2 separate regions of the Homo sapiens genome follow, and region 2 is linked to region 1. Evidence: promoter capture Hi-C in human tissues and cell types (Jung and others, 2019). All regions are on one chromosome and are shown on one strand. The core of a region is centred on a gene start or on the middle of the fragment in contact, and the rest is flanking DNA. Distances in the headings are between cores, read along the strand shown.

Region 1 (7,567 bases), core at 3,003-5,502:
GAGCAGCCCTCAGCCTAACCTCGTGGAGCAGGCTGCTGCTGCTTGCCTCTTGAACTGTAATCCCAGCACTGGGATTTGACCATTTTTCAGGCGCCCCAGATCTCATCCTGAGACCCCTCTTTTTACAGCCACAACTGCCGCAGGGGAGCTTGGACCATCTCTCAGCTCTGGTCTCTTTGGAGGGCCCTTTCATTGGCAGAGCTCTCTGGGCAAGAGGAGCTGGGGAGCCTCACTCCAGTTGAGGGGTCCTCTGGGTCCAGGACCAGCCCTCCTCCCTATCTGTGGGGTCTAGGGGTGCAGAGAGGGCCATGGGGTGGCAGTGACTCTCAATGGCAGGGCTTCCTGGGGACTGGCTTCGGGTGCATATCACGCAACTGCTTATCCATGTAGTTTCTGGGCACAGAGCAGCCCAGTCCCTCCCCAGACGAAGGGCCACTCCTTTCCCAGCCCACCTGCCGGGGGCTGAGCTAGGGTCCCTTGCGTCCTCCTCATAACTGAACTTCCCAGGGCTGTCTGCGTCCCAGGGAAGGATGAGGGGGATCCAGGACCCATGTCCCCACCCCTCAGCCCCAAACAGTCCTTTCTCTCCTTGACATCAACTATGCAGCCACGTTCCTCTCAGTGGGAAACAGACTGTAGTTAAGATGCAGATCTTTTTGAAAGAAAAAAGAAAAAAGGTATGGGGCTGCAAGCATCGACTCCTCAGAGTCAGCTGTGCCCGGTCAGGCAGGGCAGCTGCTGGAGGGCCTCCTTTGACAGTAGGGGGAGGCTCCAAGAACCCTTCCCAGAGACACCTGGATAGGGCTGGAAGGTGGGAGAGAGGCTCAAAAACACGTGCCCTGTTGCCTGTACGGGCTCGGGACTGGCCCAGGACAGGGGCCAGTTGTCAGGCACTCCTAGTAAACTAGGGATGAGCTTTGCCCCAAGGGAAGTGGGCACCTGGGGCACCCTCAGCCCATGGCTTCTTGACTTGGCCACTTCTGTTTCTCTTCATCTGCATTCTATCCCCAAGAGAGGCATGTCCCCAGAGTTAGGGGCAGAGGGAGGAAGCACAGACCACATCCCTGAAGCCTTCAGGCTCAATCCTCTTTGGGTGAGGTCCAGCCAGTCACCTCTTCCTGCGCTGTTAGCCTTGTCCTGACCTCACTCTGACTCTGGTTTCCTAAGGGACACTGTGTTCTTCCTCTCCTCTCCTTCCTTCTTTTCTTGACACAATGAGGTTTTTCATCCTGACTCTTTTCTTTGCTCTTGCTATGCTCTCTCTCTTTCTTCAGATATAATCTCAGCATTTACTTTTCTGTTTCTGCCCATCTGTCTCTCCTGAGTTGGGAGTCCTGTGGGTATTTAAGACTGATCAAATAGCCCTCTGTTTGGATGCACTCCCCAGCAGTGATAGCCCAATACAGGGGCAGCAGGGAGCAGGGGGGCTGTCACTCCAGCTGAGTCATCTTCCTCCTTTCTCCTCCCCAGGCCTGGCTTTCTGGTGGCAAGGAAGCACCACCTTGGTGATACTCCAGTGTCACTCCACCTCTTCGCGGCCCCCTCCAGGAACCGCCTCCCCCGCCAGCCAAGACTCCATTGACCATCATCTGGGCTGTCCCCATCTTCTTGGGACCTGCCCCTGGGCCTCTGCCCTTCAAATGGGGACACCAAGGACACAGCTTCCAGCCACAAGCCCAGCCCTTGTAGCACTGACATCCCAAAAATCTGGATCCTGGGGGCTTCCCTGCTCCCCCTCCCCAAGTCCTGTGCTGGTCTGAGGAAACCTCTGAACCATGTCCCTTATAAGTCCATATGGCCATCAGAACCCCTTCAAACCTGAGGTCTCCAGCATTTGGGAGCATTTTCAATGGCTGTCTTGGAGACCGTTCCTGCTGTATCCTAACTTGCCAGGTAGTTTTCTTTTCCCCGACATCGGTGCTGCTCAAGGGAAGGACCCCGATTAATAGGTGTGAGTATGTTTTGGTTTTAAACTATACATTCCCAAGTAGGCAAAGAACTTTCTGGTTTCCAACTTTCTATCTGCCTGGTGAGAGGCAACAAATATTATCATTGACTCCCCTGGAGGATTTTTTGATGTTAACTTTCTCCCAGTAGCTGTATTTACCCATGAGAGCAGGGACTAAAGGGTATGTCTACCTGAGCCATCCGCCTGCATCCTGTATTTCTCTCTTCATTCTCAGCATGTCAGTCTGCCCTTTCTCACTGCCCAGCAAGGTACTTGAATGCAGGAACTTTGTCTCATTCATTTTTGTATCCCCTCTGCCCAGCAAAGCTCAACAAATATTTGATAAAGCAATGAGCTTACAGATGGGTGAATTCCTGAACAAATATCAGACGAGAGTGACAATAGGGAAATGCAAAGGGAAGTGAGTGGTGTGGTGTCCTGGCCAGGATGCCAGGATGCCTGGCATTTGGGTCTGTTGAACTCTGATTTACCTAGAAAGGTTTTAATGGACCTTCCCCACAAAATCCTTTTCTGCAGGCTCTCTACATGTGTGAACATGATCCAACAGCAACACCACAGTTAGATGCTCCAGAGCCCTGCCTGAAGAGAAATCCTACATCCATCTCCTGCTTAGTAGGGGAGCACTGAGCAACGTTGGGAGCCATTTATTTCCTTCCTTGGGATCACACTTCTTCCCCAGATGTCTGATTCTGGTTTTCATCTGCAGTGATGGCCTTCATCTTCTCCCAGGGCACTGGGCCCTGAGATAGCAGAGCTGGCCAGCAGGAGGACTATGTGAGGGCTTCTCTGGGTCCAAAGGGAGTTCCCCCACCCCCGGGGGTTGGAGGAAGGAAAAGTGGAGGTGCTCCTGCTAGGGTTTTGGGAGCAGCCTCACGGGGGCTCTTGTGGAGGTGGGCATGCCTTGGCACCCCCCTCTCCTGGCTATTCTGTGCTGTACCCACAAGGCTTCAAGCACCTCCCCAGAGGAGGCAGCCCGATCTTCTCCACCTGGGAGCCATTTCTGAGTCTCCCTCACACCTGAGCTTCCATGGACAGGAGACCTCGGCTAGAGTCTGAGGAGTCTGGGAAGATCTCAAGCCTGTCCCCTTCCCCTAGGCTACAGTACTGGATGCTCAGCCCTCCACCATTATGGGGGTGTTTCCTGGCCATTCAGCTGATCACTGTTAAGCTATCATTTCTCTCTGGAAAGGATGCCCAGACCCCATCCGTCTACTTCACCTTCCTGGGTTCCATTCCCTTGTTTCTGGGGCAAGGCTTTTGGGAGGGCTGGAGAGAGAGAGGATGAGGGGACAGGAGAAGGACACTTTGGGCTTTCTGTCCTCCTCCTGTCCTGCCTTAGCTGGCGCCCTTCACTCCCTGTCTCCTGCCTCTGACTGGAACGAGAAAATACCTTGCACATCCCAGGTCCACCCAGCCAACCCTGACTGGTCCAGTAAGCTGTTTCTTCTGCATTTCAGCCCTGGTTCCTGATTCTACCTCCCCCAGGTCTCTACCATTCCACTCTCAGCTTCCTCCTCCTTGCCACCCAATTCTTCTTGGCTTCCCATCACTTCCCCTCTCTTTTACCTCTCTGCCCCTGTCTCGCCAAAGGCTCTCTCCTGTCTGTGGTTCTACTTGATCTCCGTAACTTTTTCCTTCCCTCCATTCACCCTGGACATTTTGCCCTCATGATTTCTCCTTTCCTCTTGTGTATTTGTCTCTTGATGACCCATTTTCCTTTCAGAGAAACTGAGGCTCAGATAGGTCAGGGGTGATGGCCTACATGGGACAGCAGGACTTAGTAGACAAGGCCTTGCATCCTTGCGGCCCTGCTTTCTGTCTCATCCCTCTTCCCTTTTGTCTTGGTCAGCCGCCCAAAGGCTCCAGCTCTGCATCCAGCAGGGGAGCCCCTTGGGGGGTTCCAGAGTCCACAACTGCACACCCGTCACCTTCACCCACTGCCTTGTTGTAGCAAACCTGCAGCCACCCTGTATATTGTATATGTATATTTATCTATTTGTATATAGATATACAATTTCAAGAACCTACTAAAGGAGGAAGCCTCACTGCTATGCAGCCTGACAGGTTATCAAGTGGGCCTCTTTGAATCCCTTTTTGCTTCTAGGAGAGTTGGGAACCATGAGGTGCCCCCCTGCAGACCCCAGAGCTGCTGCCTTCCCCAGGTGTGCAGGAGGTTTGTAGGAGACGGGGCCCCTTGGCTGCCCAAGCTGCCACCCCTCCCCCACCCGCCCAGTGGCAGTTGCGTCCGTTGGGGCTTCTGGGGCAGCCCACAGGGTTCCGAGCATGTGCTGGCAGTTGCTCTTTGGAGCACCCACTTCACTTCTCCCATGTAGTTCCTGAGTGCAGGACTCTCCTGAAGAAGGGGCGTCTAAAAGGCCAGCCCATGCATCTTGTTCAGACCAGGCTGCTCCATCTCCGCTAAGCCCAGGGATCCACTTGTGTGTCTTTCTGGGATAATTGTCTTTAGTGGCAGCCTGGGCCTCGGGGAAGGAAGGGCATGAGGAATGGCCCCGGCTGGGATGTCAGGGGCCCAGGACAACTCCTGTCTCTACCAGGAAATTGCCCCCTCTTTTCAGAGGCTGCCTTGTCCTAGGTATCTGATGTCCTGCCCTTGGCAGTTTTCAACTCCAGATGTAGGTCTGACTCCTATTAGGCTACCATTTCTTTGTGGGAAGACAGGTATGAAATTGCAGCATTCCTAATTCTCTTAATGTGAATTGTCAGAGCCCCTTCAGACCGGTGGCTGGGGCCAGGCATGAGAGGCAGGTGGTAAGGGCAAGAGGAGCAGCCCCTGTGCACTTGGGGAGGCTGGAAGGGTTGGCGAAAGGAGCTGAAAACACCCTAGATTCCCCAAATGGCATGAAGAGATCCCAGCCCTGAGGCACCTCCCACTCAAGCCGGAGATGAGCTTTTCCCAAAATCCAACTCTATGAGGCTCTCACTCAATGTGGGCTCCTGATGCTGAGGGGACATCCTGACACCCCTGTGTTCTCTTCTGCAGAACCTCGTCGCGACATTTCTCAGAAGCCATGACATGTCCCTGCGGCTGGAGGCCTTTCAAGGGTGGCCCAGGAGGCCTCAAGGGCCCGGTGTGGCCTGCAAAGGAAGGTAAGTAGGTGGCAGGGCTGAGTCTGTGCCTCAAAAGCCAACACTCCAGTTTCTTGACTTCCTCCCTTCTCCATTTCCTGAACCTGGATGGGTGCTGCCGGGGATGGTGGGAGGGATGAGACGGAGGACCCCATTCATTTGTTAGGAGATCCAGAGTTCAGCCTCTCCAGTGCCTTGGCTGCCCCCTTCCTCACTCCCAAGTGCTGCTCGTGCATATTTACTCATTGCTCCCTTTTCCTGAGATGGTGCGTATTCTCCTTTAAGAAGTGTAAACCAGACGAGTCTCTTCGGTGATAGCTCAAGGCATAGTCAGCTGCCCACTACTGAGCCTCCTCCCTTCCTTCAGCCTCTGCCCTCTCCAAGCTCACTCTGGCCTTTCTTATCCTAGGTAGGCTCCTGTCCTTTGTCTCTATTTTTGCCTTTGATCACAACTTCTCTCCTGTTGTCCCTTTGGAATGGCAGCATCATTCTGCAGCTTCTCGGTCAGCATGGGTTATGGGTTTGTGCCAACAGCGATGCATGCTGTCCCCAGAGTGGCTGGATGGGCCTTGGACAATCACTCACGTACCCAAATGTGTTCTCCAGATAACCTTTCCTCTGTGTATACGAAGAGAGAACGTTTAGGGAGCACTGTTCTCCTTCTCACCCATTCTCTCTGTTTTCCTCTCCATCATCTGGGATGTCTTTCTCTGTGTGCCATTCTGCCTCTAATTATCCTCTTTTTCTTTGTTTACAGAGAACAGCTGTTCTCACGGAAGGATCCAAAGGGTTCAAAGGCGAAGGGTGCCATCTGCTTCCCCACTGATTCAGAAGATAAACAGGAGAAGTGTCCTGTTTCACCCATATTGCTGGTCCTGATTTTTCAATAGTGTCCCTACCCTGAAGCTCTTCCATTGGTCATCATGGAGTTAGCTAACAGCCCAGGGAACTGGTCTCTTTTCCCTTTTCCCTTACCACCTGGAACTCACCTGGAAAGGGCAATCAGCTGGCTCTATATCAGACGCCACCACCTGGTCTTTGAAGTTTCTGTCCTACCAGTGCCACAGCTCCCTCTCCCACTTCTGAACTACCTCCAAGAGAGACCATCCTCAGCAGCCTAGTATGTTATGCTAGTCCTGGAATGGTGTATTCTGGATGTCTACTCAAGGCCAAACCCCAGTATTGCCTTTCGTTTCCCTATTCAAGGCCAAGGCTAGATTCTCTTCATTGTCTCCATTTCTCTTTCTCCAGAGCTCCTATAGGGCAAGACACTGTTTCTCATATATTTCTGGATCCTTGGAGCTTAGCTCGGAGCTTGGCATACATGCCCAGCATGAACTTTTCTGAATAAAATAATTTCAAATGCTGTATACAGGATACTGTTTGGTTTTTTTTTTTTTTGTTTGTTTGTTTTTTTTCTGAAATTAGAACTAAAAGCAGCTGAAAGCAAGCTTGGGGGCCATCCTGGCATGCTCAGGGAGAAAAATGAGGGGGATGAGGGCCATGAGACAGGCATGCGTGTGTTCAGAAGGGGATTTAAGGACCAGTGTGCCTACTGGGGCAGAGTTAAGACTCAGCACACACAAGGCTGATCTTGAGGGCACTTCATGAATTTCAGATTCAGGGACTATTATAGACCTTGAAGCAACCTATCATGAGTGGTAGTTGTTGCAACAACACTGGAAAAAGAGACATTTCATCATACTGTGATCCAAGAGGGATTTCATTCTCTGCCTAGGTAAGACTCTAGGAATTGTTGTGGGAATAGAACTGAGATTTGAAATATTTATCCACCTACTGTCTCTATTCACCTTTAGGCTCTACTATTCCATTTCCATTTTGTTCACAGAGATATATGGGCCAGGTTTCTAGTTACAGATTCAAAAGCTAATATCTTAAAATCTCTTTCTGAATCTCCAACTGACAAGTTTCCTGGTAAGATAAAAAATGTGAGTGAATTAGCTTCTGCAGTCAAAAATTCTGTGTGTCTGTATCCTGGTGCAGGGACATGCACACAAGTGTGTGGTTTAAGCTTGTATGTGCCAGTGTGCTGGATTCAATGCACTCTACACAACTGTGGCCACAATGTTGCTACTCTGTTGCCTCTCCCACTAGAGATTCTTTACAATGGTGATGGCTAAACAGAGTATGATGTTGAAAAAGATGTCAACATCAAGACCAGGGAGAGACAAAAACAACATAGAGATCAATGAGCAGTAACTGACATGGAGGGCCACTGAGGCCTGTGGAGTCTGTGTCTTCCATATCTCCGTATCTTCCCTGTTGTATCCCTCTTCTCTATTCTCACTGTCAGTGTTTGGACTGAGACTAACAGCTCTTCTGTAGCCTTCTAAACCTACTCCCCCATCACTCTCCACACTTTCCCCAGATTGCCCTTTCTCAAACTTGCATATGACGAAATGCCTTACAAGCTGCAAGCCGCCTGGGACTCTCCACTGCTCCTGCTCACTGCCATGCCAGTCCTTGTTTTGTCTCCTAATTATCCTTCAG
Region 2 (6,455 bases), core at 3,367-5,866, 71 kb before region 1:
CCATTAACAAATACACCATTTCACTGGCTCCCCTTCTTCAATGTAATAAAAAGCAAAATTGTTTGTGCAGTCAATAAAACTAACTGTGATGACCTCTTTGATTTTTTATTATACTTAGAATTTACAAATTCTCTCACTTATCCCATTGCTTCACATTAAGAAGGGCAACTAATGTTTAAAAATTCAGTTTTCATATTGTAGTTTAATAGTTTTAAACTATTTCTACTGTCCTAATTAGGAAGGTGCAAATAAAACATTTTTTCTGATGGTGCAAAGAGACTTTTTTTTTTTTTTTTGCTTCTTAAACAGGGTAGGTGAATTCACTGTGGCAGCTTTTAAACCTCTTTTTCTCTCACTGTAACAATGCTCCTGGTAGAGGGCCTGAGAAGACAGCCCTGTGGGTGCTGATATTTTTTTCATGGTAGAGAAATCTGAATTCTTGGGGGCATCAAAGGAGTGAAGCAGGTAATATTTGATTGGCAGGACATTCTCTGATTTACACCCCTCTATCTTCTAAGCCTCATCTTCAGGCTTGTCCCCAGCAGACCATAGGCAAGAAGCCATTCTCCAGAAAGCTGTGAGATGTTACCAGGTCTCCCCCAACCCATATTTTCTAGGAACCTTTATTGCTCACTTAATGTGAGTTGATGGGATTGAATGCAAAAATCATTGCCCCAAATTCCTCAATGGAGAGTCATCATAGTGGCCACATCTCTGTTCTCATTCAATGGGAAGAGATGACCAGTGTCTTTGTTTATTTGTTCCTATAAAATGCAACCACTTGGCAGAATGTAGTAGGTCAGTAATGGAGTGTTTTGGTAGAATGGTGGCAGAAACCCACAGTGTTTCAAGCTGCCCTGATGCTAAAGGATGGAAAAAATAGGGCATGCACCTCAAGTGTTCATTTATTGTCAGCGCTAAGCTGTGCTTCTGACATTGGCTTTGAGAAGGAAATTATGACATTTAAAAGAATCTCCCAAGCTTTATAAAAAGCCTGTGAATATCTATAAATATTGATCCAAAATGAGTGCAATGAATAATTTATAGTGAAATATACTTTCTTTGTCTTTCAGTTTTTAAAGCAGCTTGGGTTTTTTTTCTCTAAAAAAATTACGGTTAGACAAGCATATTTTTCCTCTACGTTTTAGAGCCATTTCTTATTTTTAGAAAAAAATGTGTTATTTGCAAAGGATGTTGGAAGTTCGGGGAAAAAAAGCAACAACAATGCACACATTACCAAAATGGAAACATATTGTAGATGTTCTAGTTTCAGGGAAAAATATAACAAGATTTTTTAAAAAGTTTACATAATTTGTTGTCATAATTTTGTTGTCTTTGGTGCATGTCCTCAATTTGCAGAATCATTTAAACATTTCTATGTTTACTTGAATAAAAATAGGAATTTCATTTGTTGGAGCTAATGATTCCAACCCAAAATATACTCTTGTGTAATCAGAGCAAAATAAACAGGTGCGTCCAGCATCACTCACCGTATGCCTGAGAACGGGCAGCCCATTTGTAAGACGAGCTAAATATTCTCCAACCTAACCAGGAGCTGGGCTCTAATTGATTACCTTTCTGGGTCATTTTTGAAATGTCCATTAAATTTTCACAAGAGGCCAGAGTACCCCAAAGTGTCCTACTCTTTTTCCCTTTCGCTCTATGCCCCTAGACAGAAATACATAGAAATGAATGCCTCCCAGTTTTCTTGAAGAAGCCATTGGTTGTTAAGTTCATGGCTCTAAATGTGCTTAGATGAAAGGTTTTCTTGTTTTTCTTTTCCGTTCTGTTCAGGTTGCCGTATCAGATACATTGAATTTTGTTGTTGTTGCTTCAAAATCTTATCAGTTTTTTGTTTGATTCATGTAATGGAAATGAAGACAAGAAAGAAGGAATTAACTATTGAGTCTGAAAGTTGCCATTTTAAAAAACTTTGACCTTCATGTGTTTTCATACCTCATCCCAGAACTTTTGGTTCATTTACTTCCTTGGGCTCACCAGAGATCTTGCATATACCCGTGATTTGTGAAGTTTTGTTCAGAAGCACGTTGAATTCAAATATCCCATAAAATCAAGTGATTGTGCTCTGCTATTTTTCTGAAGCCTCCTTATAGGGGCTAAGTAAACTTTATTTCCTCAAAAAGAAATCGTACATTTCTTCTATTGAATTTGATAGAGCACAAAACAGATGTGTTATGTAGTGTTTGCCTGAAATAATGAAACAGGGATTCTATTTAGATACCTCAAAATGTGTGCTGGCGCTAAGTTCTACCTATGTTCCAGAGAGAGAGTGCAATGTTATACCAGAATGTGCAAGCGTTTTGGAATCATAGCAGAAATGGATTCAAACTTAGGTTCTGCACTGGTTGACTATGAACCCAGGCAAGTAACTTAATCTCCTTAATACTGTTTGTCTATTTGTAAAAGAATTACAGGAATAATAACGATGATGATGATGATGATGATGATACCTGCCTCATAAACTTGTTCTGAATATTAAATGAGATAGCATATTTGACAAACCTAGTACTGTAAAACTGCTAAATAAATGCCTTTGGCTTCTCTCCCTAGCCTGGACAGTAGCCTCCTAAACATTCTCTAATAGTTCCTTCTCAAATACATATATATTTGAAAGCAATATCTCCCTGAAACAGATATCTGACTCTTAGACTCCCAGTTCCTTATAGCACAGGTCTAAATACCTTAATCAATGTTTGGAGTTCCCACGACATAGCCCAGTCTTGGTGACCTGGCACATCTCCCTCTCCTTCACATACCTTGTATTGCAGTCCAATCAATGTGCTTCCTTCTAAGCCCTACTTTCTTTTTACTGCTCCAGCTCCTTGGTGAATTACCCTGATTGGGATTAATTTCTCTTTTCTCTCTAAAGCACTTTACATTCGGAACATTCTGACTTGGGGTAGGTCCCATCTCTGCCATATACTATACTGTAAATTCCTTAGGTCCGTGGCAGAATCTCTGCCCTCTTTGTATCGAGCCAGCCAGCACTTAGCCTGTATGCCACTGCTTTTACACCATGATGTACTCAAGCATACTTTTAGGTAGAGTGGCCACGTAATTTATCATCTAAATTGGGACGCCTGTTCAAGAAAGATACTGGACTTAATAAATGCTAATACCACAGTCCCACAGTCCTGCTAATGGCATATTAAAGAAAACCTGCTTCCCAACAGTGGGTTGAGCTTAATTCTGTGTTTGAGGATGGAATAGCCATTTTAAGTGTTAAAAAAGCTGGGTTAGTATCAACAGGATGTTCATAGCTAATTTAAATCCGAGCATATTCAGTCTAGATAGCTATAGGGAGGGGGCTGACTTAGAAAAGCGTAGGGTAACATATTTGATAAATGAATTTTAGAAATAATTATAACACATGCAGAAGATACTTATAAATGCTCATTGGTCCCAGAAGGTTTCATTGTATGACACAGCTACCACTTGGTGGATGCTTCCACACTCACTTTAACAATGTTCACAGAAGCACAGTAAGCTCTCTTTGCCCACACTACGTGAATCTTGACAATACATTTGGAGTTGACTAATTGATGGAATGATTTGTATGTTAAGCAAAATTATGTTTGAGATCTTAGCATTAGGCTTTCTTAAAATGTGTTGTCTTCCCCATGTTAATTCTGCATTTACTGAGAAAGAAATATTCTAACATCACGTGTTAATTCCATTATCTTTAATGAATTGATTATTTCTAAACGTGGGGAGGGAACAAATCTTACATTAAGAATCTCTGTTACTTGGATACACTCCTTGCAGAATGACAGTGTGACAATTCAACAATGCTATTTGCACCATATTTGTATAACGTCTACACCCCATGCATGGGTGTATTGTTTGTCTGGAAAGTTTGAACATCAACCAACATTAACATTTTTTCTTAGCTGTCTGCTCTAACAGAGGCAAGCCTAAAGGACATAAATGCCACATCCCTCAGACAATTGTGTGAATAATTCTCCCTGGGTCCATTGCTTCTGGGTTTTGGCCTTGGCTCCTGGTGTTCACAGCATTAAGAGGGTTAAAGGTTCTGGCATGGTGAATTTATTGTTGACATCTCACAGTCCTTAAAGGCAGGATCACTAATGGGTGACCTTGGGGTTCGACCGTTCCAGACCCAAGAAGATCAAGTCTCACCCCCCTCCTGCAAGTGCGATGACCCCTCTATTCTCACTCTCCCTGGCCTAACCTTTAACTCACTGATCTTTGACCAAAGTATTAAACAAACACCTGCTTGGGTCTGTGGTCAAAGACTGTGGACTTGAAGATCTACCATCATTTCATGTGAATAAGCTGTGGTAATAATAATGAAATATAGAGCAGATCTCTGGACACGCTTACAGTAAGTAATTATATTGTTACTGACCACATACAACATAGATTTTCTAACAACCCATGTATACGGTGAATCAATGTTAATCAAGCTGACCAGAGTATTCATGGGTTGTCAGTGGATACACCAAGGCTTCTATTATTTGCATTAACACCTGACAATAGTGCAGCAATGTTTATTCCCTGTTACTAAAAGAGACCGAACCTAAAATTAAGTTTAGAATACCTTAGATTTGCTATTGACAGTAAGTAATGCAAAATGCATTGATGCTTAACAGAGGTACCGAGGATCATTGAAATGATTAGATGAAAAGAATATTTGGTGAAATCAAGTGACATAAATTTTGTGCTTTGTGGGAAAGAGGGAGAAATGGTACATTGACAGTGTACTCTGAATACTTAAATTAAAAAAAATCAGACTTCTTTTTGTTGCTCTAAATTGTTTCACTGATGCTTTGTAAAAACAGCCTCACTTGATATGGTGAAACCTCCTAAAATATAAAATCACACCAGGAAAAGTTTTTACAAAAGACTAGGGGAGTCTCTCACTATGAATAGTAAAGTGTTATTCAAAAAAGACCTACTTTGCTGTTTTTCATTAGTCTAGTGTAAATTGTTAGGGCTCATCTTTATAAATCAAAATCAAATTAGATACATTTAATAAACCAATTACACCAAAGAGTTAAGATTTAACGACTACTTTATCTAAATATTTTATAAATAAATGACATATTTCTGTCGCATAACCTTTACTCTACTTAGAAAGCTTTAATGAATTTACAGTTCTGTTTTAGCAAGTGAATAATACACTCCCGCTTTCTGAGAGCACCGACTTCACAAATGCTCAACACCAAAATGAAATTGTATGATATACAGAAGAAACTTCATACTTCATTACATATCTGCAGCCTTTTTCATGATACTATAATGTTCACAACTTTGAATGAAATAATTAATAGCACTGCAGAATACCACGCCATCAAATCCAGATTTTTTTCTCTACGCTAAAATTGATAGTGCTTTTATTGGTATATATAGAACTCTATTTTTTCTTATTTCCCCTTTCATTTGGGGAGAGTTGCTTACTTTTTTTTCTGATCTTAAGTAGGTCTCATAAAGTAGAGCCAATATTACCACCCCCCACTCTTATCCATACTCTACTCTTTTATATGCCTTTATTGTAGTTTTATTTATTCATATATATTTCGGATGCCTACTCAGTGCTGGGCACTATGCTAAGTGACTGGAAAAGGTGAAGATAAGTGAAGCTTCATTTTTGCATTTCTATGAGTTTTGGACAAGGAAACCCCCACATTTCATTAAGGGAGACACTTTTTATTAACTACATTTCTTCTATAAACCCAGACATCAAAATAACGTGGAAAGACACTTAACCACACATTATTGAGTAAGAAATACCTATTTTTATAATTTACATACACTTCTATTGTAGTTTTATTTATTCATATATATTTAGATGCCTGCTCAGTGACAGGCACTATGGTAAGTGGTTGGAGAAGGGTGGAAACTATTTGCAACTCCCATTCACAGACTAGGAAACTTCAGTTTCCCAATGTTAATCATGTATGTTTAAGCGTCTGTCCAGATTAGGAAACTTCAGTTTCCCAATGTTAATCATGTAGGTTAAGTATCTGTCCAGACTAGGAAACTTCAGTTTCCTAGTTACCCATCTAGTAACTGGTGGAGCTGAGATTTAAATTCAGACAATCTGACCCTAAAGCTTTTCTTGTAACCACTATTTCAACTACCTCGCAACCTGAGCAATAAATCCATTTAGAAGGCCATGCACCTTGGTTTCTACCTCTCCCATGCTGCCTTATTTGACATTGCCATAGATTCAGCTGGGCTTATGTCAGTTTCCTCTGTAATTTCCTGAGATGAAAAACTAAGCTTCACTTATCTTCACTTTCCCCAACCACTTAGCATAGTGCCTGGCACGGAGCAGGCATCTAAAATATATATTAATAAATAAAACTAAAACAAAAGTATATATAAATTGTAAAAATAGATATTTCTGTCCCAATGTTAATCATTTATGGTTAAGTATCTGTCCACATTATTTTGACATCTGGGTTTAT

Evidence for each region. Contacts are between HindIII fragments. The study calls those that stand out against the background at their distance.
Region 2: a fragment that was not itself captured here is called in contact with the fragment with the promoter of SPATA8 in region 1 in 3 of the 25 tissues and cell types used here (dorsolateral prefrontal cortex, spleen and thymus).

Annotation. Positions count from the first base shown.
Region 1 is chr15:96,779,183-96,786,749 of GRCh38, forward strand. SPATA8 (spermatogenesis associated 8) reads left to right here and starts at 4,253. Exons shown (of 3, transcript NR_158223.1): 1 at 4,253-4,407; 2 at 4,971-5,077; 3 at 5,814-6,433. It overlaps SPATA8-AS1 (SPATA8 antisense RNA 1), which reads right to left and starts at 4,155. Exons shown (of 4, transcript NR_102753.1): 1 at 3,994-4,155; 2 at 1,819-1,920. The HindIII fragment of the contact is 9,916 bases long and covers 1-6,797 here.
Region 2 is chr15:96,707,900-96,714,354 of GRCh38, forward strand. No RefSeq gene overlaps it. Among named protein-coding and RNA genes, the nearest start is that of SPATA8-AS1, 72 kb to the right of the region's middle. The HindIII fragment of the contact is 3,131 bases long and covers 3,052-6,182 here.